2 separate regions of the Homo sapiens genome follow, and region 2 is linked to region 1. Evidence: promoter capture Hi-C in 16 types of primary human blood cells and fetal thymus (Javierre and others, 2016). All regions are on one chromosome and are shown on one strand. Each heading gives the region's core, a stretch centred on a gene start or on the middle of the fragment in contact. The rest is flanking DNA. Distances are from core to core; before and after follow the strand shown. Region 1 holds the start of ARHGAP10 (Rho GTPase activating protein 10). Region 2 overlaps SLC10A7 (solute carrier family 10 member 7).

Evidence for each region. The method cuts DNA at HindIII sites, captures the fragments that hold promoters and counts their contacts. A CHiCAGO score of 5 or more calls a contact.
Region 2: a fragment that was not itself captured here is called in contact with the fragment with the promoter of ARHGAP10 in region 1 in 1 of 17 cell types (M0 macrophages); the score reaches 7.1 in M0 macrophages.

What each region holds. Positions count from the first base shown.
Region 1 is chr4:147,728,441-147,734,697 of GRCh38, reverse strand. It overlaps ARHGAP10 (Rho GTPase activating protein 10), which reads right to left and starts at 2,610. Exons shown (of 23, transcript NM_024605.4): 1 at 2,243-2,610. The coding sequence starts at 2,396. RefSeq lists enhancers at 566-695, 1,824-1,893, 1,214-2,106, 2,107-2,999 and silencers at 2,004-2,083, 2,394-2,913. The HindIII fragment of the contact is 2,455 bases long and covers 1,757-4,211 here.
Region 2 is chr4:146,282,068-146,288,166 of GRCh38, reverse strand. It overlaps SLC10A7 (solute carrier family 10 member 7), which reads left to right. Exons shown (of 12, transcript NM_001029998.6): 10 at 4,902-4,975. Among named protein-coding and RNA genes, the nearest start is that of REELD1, 71 kb to the right of the region's middle. The HindIII fragment of the contact is 6,389 bases long and covers 1-5,652 here.

The sequences.
Region 1 (6,257 bases), core at 1,361-3,860:
CAGGGGAAGTTGGACGCAAAAGAATAAGACCTGCTCAATTTTCCTATAGCCACGCCCTAACCAGTGAAGAAGAATTAAATTCAGGTCCCCTGACTTTAGTCCAAGGCTCTTAGTCTTTGATAGGAACTAGAAGTAAACTTTATGGAGCAAGCGGGAAAAGGCATGTGAGCTACAGCTGTGTTCCTGTCACCTTCTGGGAAAGAATTTAAACATAAATTCTTAATGAACATAACGAGAAAAAAAGACACTTCCCAATTACTCTCAAAGCATGATTACAAGTTATGTTTCTTATGCTAAAGGACGAGAATCAAAATGAGTAAGATACTAATTCACAAATTCAAGAAAGTCTACAGTCTGGAGGAAAGCTGACATCTGGCCCCCCAGATGCACTGGCTGCTGCTGGAACCTAACGCATGTGTCCTGATGGCAGGAAAGCTAATATGCTGTCACAGAAATAGCTTTCTACCAGTGGCCAAACTGGCTTTGCCCTCTGCCTCTCTCCACACCTCTCTAGCTCCAGAGGGAACTACTACAACCAATGAGAGAGAAGGTACATTCTCCCGGCCACTGACTCTGGTTAACATCAAGTTACAGAAAGAGTCCTCAGTCCTCATTCTCTCGTGTTCACTCTGCACCCCCGCTCCCAACTCCTCCTTTCTATGCTCACTCCTCCATATGTATAGGCGCCCCCCTACTTCCCACCCAACACACATACCAGATGCCAAGGGCCTGGAGAGCCCTCAACCAAATAAGCCCACTTGTCACATGTCCCAGAGTCCCATTTCTGATTCAAGCAGCAGAGACTTAAAAACAAAACAAAAAAACCCTAAGTGAGTCCCAGTCCTGATTTTGCAACACCAAAGAGGTCAGAGAACCAAAAGGAACCTTGGAGATCATCCAGAGAAGTTGAGTGACTTGCCTCCAAAATTACAGGGATGGCTCACTAAATTCTTCCCACAGAAATGTACTTCAACTTATTCATTAAATGCATATTTACTGTACCAGGCACCATGCTGGGTGCCCGAGACAGTATAATCAATATGTTTTAATCGCCCTTACTGAAAAATGGGGCGGGGCGCGGTCGGGAGAACAGTGAGATGGGGGATTTTCCCCAGAGGTGGTATCTACAAACAAATGTACAAGGGACGAATACCTAAGGCTGAGAATTACTGAACTGAGAATCTAGGTGAGTGATGAAGGCCCTAAGAACCCAGCCCCTCAAGGCTGGATACTGCCCAAGTCCCTGTCTGCTGTATGGACAGGTCTTTTAAAGGGGGAAAGGGGACATTCACCGCCATCCTCCGAAGGGGTTATGGATCCAAGGGATGGTCAGGCTGCCCAGCTCCTCACTGGGGCTAATTCCGCCCCATTTTCCAGTAGCATCACTAACTCAGTATTTCTGCATGAATTTTGGCCCCTTCTCTCCTAGAAAGACTCTCCTCAACTACACTAAAATACAGTTATCTCTCCTGTATCTCGTGTCTTCTTCCGAGTTTAAGAGACAGAAGTTCAGGGGAGGAAGGCACCAAGCCTAACCGGGGTGGAATTCCCTATTTGCAAGCAGTGCCCGCCTAGGCTAGAGGGCAGGCTGTCCGCTCACCCTTCCAAACCCCAATCTTTGAACCCTCCTCAGCACGGCAGGGGAGGAATGTGCGGAAGCAGCATAAAGCCAGGTGGACTTTCTGGTTTGGCACGTGAAGGACCTGGAACAGGACTGTCGGGGAAGATCAGACAATGAGAGGGAAAAGGTGAAGCTTAAGGGGACTCTGGAAAACTCAACACTCCCGCAGGGTTTCAAAGAATCCCCAAGAAATTTCTTTTGAGAAGTCACAAAACAAAACTAGGCAAACAGATGCCTCGGTTTTGTAAGAGATTGTGAGTAGCTTTAGGCAGCAATGAAACCTGACTCCGGGCCAGGAGTGCCTAGGGTCGGTCCAGCGGAGCGCGCATTCAGCGAGGGGTGTTCGGCCGGGGCCAGGCGGGGCCCAGGCGGGGCCCGCTGGCAGCTGGTTCCCGCCGCCGCAGAGCCGCAGGGGCGGGAATGGGGACTCGCCGCGCTGCCTCGAGGAGGAATGATTCCAGGGACCCCCCGGGGTTCCGAGAGAGCTGGGCTGGTCCGGAATGAATTCCCCGTTCCTCTGGCTGCTGGCCCCGGACACAAGACCCTCCGTCTCCTGCCGAGAGAGGCTCCCCCAGCCGCCTCGCCACGCCGCAGCCCGTCCGCGCCCGCGTCCCCGCTTACTTTTCGTCGCAGCGATGAGGTTCTTCCCGTCCTTAATGAGCTCTTTGATGAACTTGTTGGTCCTCTCGAGTTCCGCTTCGTGAGCGCGGATCCTCTCCCGGAACCACGGGCTGTCGAGGTAGCAGTCGCTGAACTCCAGGGGCTGCAGCCCCATGACGGCAGCGGTCGCTGCGCGGTGCGCACGGCCGCGCGCTCCTGCCCGAGCCGAGCTCCGAGGCCGCTGCCAGGTGCGGCGCCGCGCGTTCAGGGAGCACAGAGGAGCTAGCAGGCCCGGGCGCGCGGCGAGCGCGGCACGGACATGTCCCGTAGAGCCGAGTCCTGCGGCGCGGAGGAGCTGCCACCGAGACCAGCGCTAGCTGCGGCGCCCCAATCCCGGCAGCCCCCGCCGAGCTCTGAGCGCCCGCGGCCCCGCCCCGCCCGGCCCCCGCGCGGCAGACACTCCCCGAGGCGCCACCCGGCCGGGCCCGCGCTCCCGCTCGTCCCCTTCTCTTTCCTCCGCCTTCCTTCTTCCTCCCTTCCCTTCCCTGGACGCCTCTTCCTTCTCTTCCCCACGCGCAGCTGCCCCTCCTCTTCCTTCCGAGGCGTCCTGGGGCTAGAATTTCGCCCCGCGGCTCCCCTCCACCCTGGGCGCTCTCCCCTCCCCTTTGCTTGGGCTCCCGGGGCCGGGGTGACTCACAGTCGGCTCCCCGCTGCACGGAACCCGACCGGGACCGAGAAGGAGCGTCTTAATTGCAGTCGTTAGTCCCCGCAGGCGGGCGACATAACTCTGAAGTGGCTGCCTTGCAGGAGATGATTAACTCATTTATCTCATTTATCCTGGGACGCCCCCAACCCCGAGCTGGGAACGAACTCGCACAGGGGGCTCTTTTCCTTATCCCGGTTCCTTTCCCAGTTTAAAGTGAGATGCGTGGTAAATCTCCGCTTGAGATCGAAGCCTTACAATGGCAAGAGCGTTTTCTTGGTGGCCCAGCAGCTCCTATTACACTTCTCTGCGTATCCGCACTAAATAACTTAGTTGAAGAGAGAGGGCTGGCTAAACCACAGAAAAGTTGTTTCTGTTGTGTTCAGCACATTAAATTTGCTGGGGTAGGTGAAGACGATCTTTATTATTCTAAAAATAACTACCGGAAAACATGCCAGGTAACGTGTGGTTTTCACCGCGTGGGGGTGACGATCAATGAGAATTTATGTCAGTGCCCTCAAAAAGCCTATTTTGTGTGTTATGAAACAACTCCAGTGTGTCCCAAAAAAAGTTAGGCATTTTAAAGTATTAAAATGTATACCTTAGGCCGGACGTGGTGGCTCACGCCTGTAATCCCAACACTTTGGGAGACGGAGGCGGGTAGATCACCTGAGGTCAGGAGTTGGAGACCAGCTGGCTAACATGGTGAAACCCCGTCTCTACTTAAAATACAAAAAGTACCCGGGTGCGGTGGCACGTGCCTGTAGTCCCAGCTGAGGCAGGAGAATCGCTTGAACCCAGGAGGCGGAGGTTGCAGTGAGTCGTGATGGTGCCACTGCACTCCAGCCTGGGCGACAGAGCGAGACAATGTCTCAAAAAAAAAAAAAAGTATTTCTTAAAAAAAAACACTAATAGTTCATTAGAGTAACGTTTCATAATCGCAATTTATTAAGCAATTATTATGTGCCGGGCACCCACTAGGAACTCCATACATCTACAAACTCGCGATATAGACTTACATGATATGATGGTAATATTAACGAGAAACTTCAAAGTAATTCCTCAAGACGTTCAGACTCTCAGCTGGGTAATTAAGAATCTGTTTGGACAGCATGTTGTAGGAGGGTAACCCTCCCGAACAAGTTAAATAAGCCTCCTACTCAATAAGCCCTTTTGTTACAAAACAGCACCAGGAGTGCCTAACCCACAGATAAACATTATTACTCTAATGTCCATCCTCCAGAGAGTTCAAAGTGTTTTACAAATAACTTTTAGGCGGTGAAAGCTTCAGTTCCTACTAAAACCAGCAGGAGACTGGAGTCTACAGAAAAGAGAATAAAAGAGGCAAATAAAGGGGAAGAAAGACAAGAAGAGAGGGGGTGTAAACAAAAATGAGGGCCTAGCGAAACAGCCAAGCACTGACCACACTCAATCCTCAGAGCAGAAACCCAAACCTTTTCTCATAGAGGGGCTGCTGAGACTTCTTCAATATTGAACATGGAGGTTACCGTGTGACCCAGCAAGTCCACGCTTAGATATATACCCAAAAGAAATGAAAATATATGTCCACGCAAATATTTACACACAAATATTCATAGCAGCATTATTCGTAATAGCCAAAAAGTAGAATCAACCAAAATGTCCTTTGTCAGCTGTGTAATGGATGCACAAAATGTTTGTCCATAAAATGAAATATTAATCTACAATAAAAAGGAATGAAGTACTGACACGTGCTACGGCACAATAACGGTGAAAACGTTATACTAAGTAAAAGAACCTAGCTGCAAAAGGCCAATACTATCTACTTATATTAAATGTCCAAAACAGGTAAATCTATAGAGGCAGAAAGATTAGTGGTTGCTAGAGACTGGGGGATAGAGTGGAGGGTATATGTAGTCAGGAGTTTATTTTCAGGGTGATGAAAATTATTAATATTTTTATTTTTCATAGAGATAGGGTCTCACTATGTTGCCCAGGCTTTTCTCAAACTCCTTAGTTCAAATGATGCTCCCACCTTGGTCTCCCAAATTGCTGGAGTTATGGGAGTGAGCCGCCGAGCCTGGCCGAAAACAATTTAAATTTACATTTTGGTAATGGTTGCACAATTCTGAATATACTCAAAATCACTTAATTGTATGTGATAAATGGGTGGATTTCTTTTGGTCTGTGAAATATATCTCAATAAAAAATTTTTTTTAAGATGAACTACTCTAGAACTGCTTCTCCTTTACCACATTAGACTTCAAGCCGTAAAAACTCTGGTTTATTCAGTGTGCCCAGTTCTTTAGATATTTGGAGAAAAAAAAAAGTTGTTTAAAACAATGTCAAAACATCATAAAAAATATTACTTATCACTTCACACACATGTACACCCAGTGTTAAAGAGCTAGTGAATATGAATCTTAATTCATTACCAAATAGGTCCACAATAATTACCATGAGTGGAGGGGCCTGATTAATTTTGTTTTATTCAGCTATGCCTATGCAGTGTCTGGTATACAAGTGATCAGTAAATGTGGAATGAATAAGTATAACTAACTGAAGAGAAATCTCTGTACAGTGGACAGTGGAAAGATAGATATTTAGTAGTTCCAGCTCCAGCTTTACTACTTAACAGTTGTGCAACCTTAGCAAAGGTAATTTTCTGTAAACCTCAGACTTACCATCAGTGAAATGGAGATGATGACATTGCAGCTGCAGGTTGCTTGAGAAGATTTAATGAAATTGTGTTTGTAAAGTGCCTGCTGAAAATTATGATAATAATGAGACTCAAGGAAGAAGGAAGTGTGGAGGATGGGCTGAAGAGAGGGATGAGGGAGAGGAGGAGACAGATTACATTCCATCAATGTGGGAAAGATTTTCGGGGCAGGAGAGCCCTTAAATCATGGTTTTAAACCATGTAAGACAGAACTCAAGAAAAGTGGCCACAAAAGCAGATGCTACTGAGTTTCCAGGTTTCATCTTAATTAATCAATTATTCCCACAAATATTTACTGATCATTTATATGTATTAGGCACCGTATTAGGTGCTCATGATGCAGCAGCACACAAAACAGTCCTCACCGTGCTTTTGGTCTCTGGGGGAGACTGGCCTCATCCCAAAAAAAAAGAAAAAGAAAAATCACACACATATATATCCAATTGAAAATTGAAGCACCATGCAGTTAAAGTGAAGGGTGTGTGAGAGATTATAATTGGAACACCTGATGGAGATTGGGGCTGGGTCAAGGAAGGCCTCATTGAGGAAGTGATATGAAAATGATAATTTAATCAATGACCAGGAATATCAGTAGGAGTTAACTGTTAAATAGGGGTAGGAACAGAGTAGTACAG
Region 2 (6,099 bases), core at 1,209-3,708, 1.4 Mb after region 1:
TTTATGCCTTAAGGTTCTAATCCTCCTTCCCACTCATGGACTTTTTGTCGATAAGACTGTAGAGCAGTGTTACTGAGAGCAATGAGCCAGAAATCTCCCAGTGTGGCCCTAGCTTTAGCCTCCTTACCTGAAACAGAGGACAAGTAAGCGTATCTTGCAAATATCCTCTTTAGCCACATTGTGAATGCTGCTCTAGTGAGCAGCAGCCAGCGCCAGATTAATTCAGAGCCTCCTTGACCAGAGAGACTGTGACACACTGGAAATGTGCTGTAACCTTGAAAAGAACAAGATATCAAGCCGAACACAGTTTACTAAAGGAAAAGTGTAGTGCAAGACTCTAGGAAGAAAACCAAATGCATAAACCCAGATGCAGCCATGGCTGATATAAACAAGGGCCACAAAAGACAAAGTTTTTGAAGTGCTCCTAACACCACAAACGTTGCTGGACAACATCCCCTACCTAGGACAGCTGATCACATTACATGTTCTACAATCACTGGAGGGCACTCACTCCTGCATGGAAGTTTTTTTATTCATTGTTAATTGACTGTAATTCATATTCTCCAATCTGCCAATTTCAAACTTTTCTAATGTATTTGATTCCCAGGCCTTGGAATTAACTCAAAGTTGGCTCACACTTTACAAAGAAAGTAAAATCTCTGACATAACTTGCCTCTGCTTGCCCGTTCTCTACCTGAAAAATCTCCATATTTTTCACTCCCCTTGTTCACTTTTGCTTCCAGCTCAGATATGTTAGGAAATGCCCTGCTCCAGATAACTTCTTTATTCTTGGCTTCTCAGGCCTCTTTGGGACCTATGTTCATCAGGTATTTCTCTCTGCCGTGTCTTCACTTTCTCTTTATAATCATAGTCAAATATCCTGTGACCTTTTTCTTCCCTTTGCCAGATTTCTTGAAAACACAGTCCTTACCACTCCAAAGACGGTCCTTCTCACCAGTCCAAACTCAGTCGTTCTCACCACTCCAGACACAGTCCTTCTCACCACTCCAGACACGGTCCTTCTCACCACTCCAGACACGGTCCTTCTCACCACTCCAGACTCGGTCCTTCTCACCACTCGAAACACAGTCCTTCTCACCACTCCAAACTCAGTCCCTCTCACCACTCTAAACTCAGTCCTTCTCACCACTCCAAACACAGTCCTTCTCACCACTCCAAACACAGTCCTTCTCACCACTCCAAACTCAGTCCTTCTCACCACTCCAAGTTCAGTCTTTCTCAACTCTCCAAGTTCAGTCCTTCTCACCACTCCAAACGCAGTCCTTCTCACCATTCCAAACACAGTCCTTCTCACCACTCCAAACACAGTCCTTCTCATCACTCCAAACAGTCCTTCTCACCACTGCAAACACAAGCCCTCACCACTCCAAACACAGTCCTTCTCACCACTCCAAACACAGTCCTTCTCACCACTCCAAACTCAGTCCTTCTCACCACTCCAGACACAGTCCTCCTCACCACTCCAGACACGGTCCTTCTCACCACTCCAGACACGGTCCTTCTCACCACTCCAGACACGGTCCTTCTCACCACTCCAGACACGGTCCTTCTCACCACTCCAGACTCGGTCCTTCTCACCACTCGAAACACAGTCCTTCTCACCACTCCAAACACAGTCCTTCTCACCACTCCAAACACAGTCCTTCTCACCACTCCAAACTCAGTCCTTCTCACCACTCCAAACTCAGTCCTTCTCACCACTCCAGAGTCCTTCTCACCACTCCAAACACAGTCCTTCTCACCACTCCAAACACAGTCCTTCTCACCACTCCAAACTCAGTCCTTCTCACCACTCCAAACACAGTCCTTCTCACCACTCCAAACACAGTCCTTCTCACCACTCCAAACTCAGTCCTTCTCACCACTCCAAACACGGTCCTTCTCACCACTCCAAACATGATCCTTCTCACCACTCCAAACACGGTCCTTCTCACCACTCCAAACACGGTCCTTCTCACCACTCCAAACTCCGTCCTTCTCACCACTCCAAACTCAGTCCTTCTCACCAATCCAAACACAGTCCTTCTCACCACTCCAAACTCAGTCCTTCTCACCACTCCAGAGTCCTTCTCACCACTCCAAACACAGTCCTTTTCACCACTCCAAACACAGTCCTTCTCACCACTCCAAACACAGTCCTTTTCACCACTCCAAACACAGTCCTTCTCACCACTCCAAACTCAGTCCTTCTCACCACTCAAAACACAGTCCTTCTCACCACTCCAAACTCAGTCCTTCTCACCACTCCAAATTCAGTCTTTCTCACCTCTCCAAGTTCAGTCCTTCTCACCACTCCAAATTCAGTCCTTTTCACCACTCCAAACACAGTCTTTCTCACCACTCCAAACACAGTCCTTTTTACCACTACAAACTCAGTCCTTCTCACCACTACAAATCTAGCATACATCAGCATCAACTCCTTGGCCTCCTTCCCAAGGCTCACTGAGCCTCCTCTTTAATTCTGTTTCCTTAATGCTCCTCTTGGTTCCATATACTCAAAATTTCTAATTTCTCTTTGGTTCTTCCTTCTCTCTCAAAGCAATAATAATAATATCAATATCCCCTAGCTTGTGTTCAACATTTACATTGTGCCACATTCTTAACAAGCACTGGCATTTATCCCCACAATTGATCCTAAGAGTCAGAAGGTCTTATACTCATTCTACATATGAGAAAAAGGATGGCCTGGAATTAAAATCAGGTGTGTTTGCTCCAAAAGCCTGCACTCTTGAGCTGTTGGGAGGTACTGTTGCACAGAAGTTAACAGAAATTCTTTTCATCCTATCTCCATGTCTCTTTCCACCATCTCCTGTTTTCACTCTGATTCTTTAGACCCTTAGAGCTCCCTGCTTCCTGCCCAGCCTCACCATCTTTAGTCTTACACCATGCTGTGTGATCACTTCTCCTTAAGAATGGATCTACTTATGTCATTCTACTGTCCCAACTCCTTCAGCAGTTCCCCTTATCCCATCATATCAACTCCATACTCCTGATCATAAGCCAGTGTCCCTGCACACAAGTCAGCCTGAAGAATCTGTTCTTTGCCAACTGCCCCCTACACTCCCATACTGCAGTCTCACTGTCCCCTATCTAAAACACACATCTGCACATATCTAAATCTATTCTTTAAGGCTCAGCTCAATTGTTATTTTTTCCCAGAAGGTTATTTGTGCTCTATCATCATCTCCTACTTTCCCTGCCAAGCTAGAGGTGATCCTTCTCTTTCAGCTGAAAGCACTCTATTTCTCTCTCCTCTCCTCTTTCTCATGTATGTCTGTAGTGCTTTCATCTCTCAGCCCATGCATTTACGGAACCTTATGGAACTCCTTCCCCATTAGGCCTACTGTGAGGAATAAAGGGATGAAGAAATATGAAAGCCATGTAATGCAATGTTTAAAAAACAAGAATGCTATTACAATATCAATATGAGAATAAAATGTAGAAACAATTAAGCCAGTCTTATTATACTCAATAAGAGTATATGATATGCATCCATGGGGAATCCTCAACTGAAGTGAGACACCAAAAATTCAGTTTGAAAGTTACCAAGAAACAGCTTAGAAGTACAACTGGTTAGGAAGCAGAAACATGCATGCCTTTTCAGAAGAGAGACCAAAGGCCATTTTAAATATTCTCTTGACACAGGCACAGGGGATGAGGAAGCAGGGTGGGGTGATGGGGGAACCCGGCGGGGAGTTGAGGGGACTCTTCTCTCCTCCTGTGGGTATACAACAAGAAAAACAGGATGTGGGATCTATTTAGGGAAGAGTTTTCTCCCAGCAAAAGTCGTGCATGGGGATGAGATTACTAAGGGAAATGATTGGGTCTCTTTCATTAGGGAGCCTTAAAAATCAGGTACATTGTTATATCTGCAACTGTATAGATGGAGTCAGTTTCTAGAACATTTTTCCATTTGCTAACTCTTCTGTCAGAGTTCAGAGCAGGGAATGAATAGACTCTATATAGTCAAATCCTGATATCCTGACTCCACAGGAAAGAATAGTTTCTAAAATATAAGGGCACAATCATAACAATGACATTTTTAACTTTTTTGGCTTTCTAAACCCTTATTATCTAAAACAGGAAATCTGATTATGACATCCAATTCCCAGTACTGACTCCCCACAACATTTAATTAGTTTTGACTCAGTGAGGTTTTTTTTAATGTTTAACATAGTATATAACAATAGTAGAATATAGTAATTAAGAACACAGGCCTGGGAACTAGACTCTGTTTGAATCCTGGCTCTGTCACTTACTACCATGGGCCCTGAGTACATTATACACTTCTGTGTGCCTCAGTTTTCTCATCTGTAAATAGGAACATTACATCACTTGCCTTTTGGGGTTGTTGCTTTTACATGTAAAGACATTAGAGAAATGCCTATACATGATACTGCTCAAAAAATGATAATTTGTTTTTACTAAAATATATGATGTTAAATCTTTTTTCATACCCTGTATTCTTAAGTGTGTGTTTGCTACCAAAAGGATGTGTTGCTCCTTGAAAAGAGCATTTTTAGAGATATATTTATCCTTTCAAGCCACTGGGTAAATTTCAAGTGGTAACCTAGAGACTTAGAGTTCCTTGTTGCATTATTTTTATAATCAGTCCTGCTCCAGGGGCTGATTATATACGTGATCTTAGGCGACCTCCACCACACATTTTTACAACTGTTCTCCTTTTCATGGATAAATGACTCAGAAGTAGTTCTCTAAAAAGAAATCCAGACACTTCTGTACATTTGGGTGTAGAATTACTACTGTCACCAGGATTGATCAAAGGGATGTTAACATAAAGGTAGGTACTACATTTGATTTTGAATGTGTTAAATTGGCTTTTTATAAAAGTATTTGTCAAAATCTTTTTTTGCCCCTAGGAATAATTCGGGTTTCACACCAGCAGACACAGTGGCTATCATTTTCTGTTCTACACACAAATCCCTTACATTGGGTAAGTGATTCACAGAGTTAAAAACCACCTATTACCCTCATATAGTTACATCTTATGACTTTGATATTCAAAGAACTCTTCAAATTAAATGGAATGGGGTGTTGTCCACACTATTAGATAAGGAACAGTAGCAAAGTGAGGGTGGGTCATTGCTTTGAAATTCTGTTATTTGATTGAACAAATCTCTGTGGGCCAAAATTAACACTGTAAAACTTAGCTTAATTTATAATCATATTTTCAATTCTCATACAAGATTACCAATGTAGAATGTAACATTAGAGCAGGGGTGGAGATGCTGTGGAAACTACTTCTAAATAGGGAATTGGCAAAAACATTGCTTTGGCAGGCCCTAGAGTTGTCCCTGGAAAAGATTAACTTATTTTCCAGCAGCTCAGAGCAAGGTGGGAATAATGTTATTACTCTAATTTGATATTGACATTAGTTTGATGCTTATTTCTGAATGTTATTTCTATAAAGAAACAATATAGTTATCATTAACTCAATCAGATTAGCACTAAAAGTGAAATAAGTATTTATTTAATGGACAAAAATGGATTAAGAAGAAAAGTGCTATTTTCTACTTAGCTTTATCCAATTAGTGGCATTATCCCAATAACCTGTTACACATCCGGAATCTATGTTTTTAGTCATTAAAAGTCATTAAGTAATCAGAAGCTTTATTGAAATATACATCAGTCACAAACTCCTTGGGGTGGTGGGCATGTTATGGCAAAAACTCATATTAAAAATTTCTCTACATTTTAGCACATGAGTCACTTAAGAGAATGAAGAATCATTACAATGTTCTTAGTCTGCTTATGTTAAGGAAATTCAGTCTGTGAACTAGAAAATGAAGACATTTCATAATGTTTTTATTAATCCCAAACATATTTGTCTGATAGTCTACTGTCAGTCTTACCAAGTTTGGAACATGATTTAGAAATTGGACAAACCCTTAGGAGCAGTTGTTATTGAGAGCTTCAGCTTATTTGAATTATATATATATAGTCTATGCACTGCTCTATTTTTGTATCTGTGTAGCTATAATCATCATTAAATTGAAGTTGAAACAGTCTTAGAAACCATATTCCAATCCTAATTTTGTGACCTTAGACAAATCAATT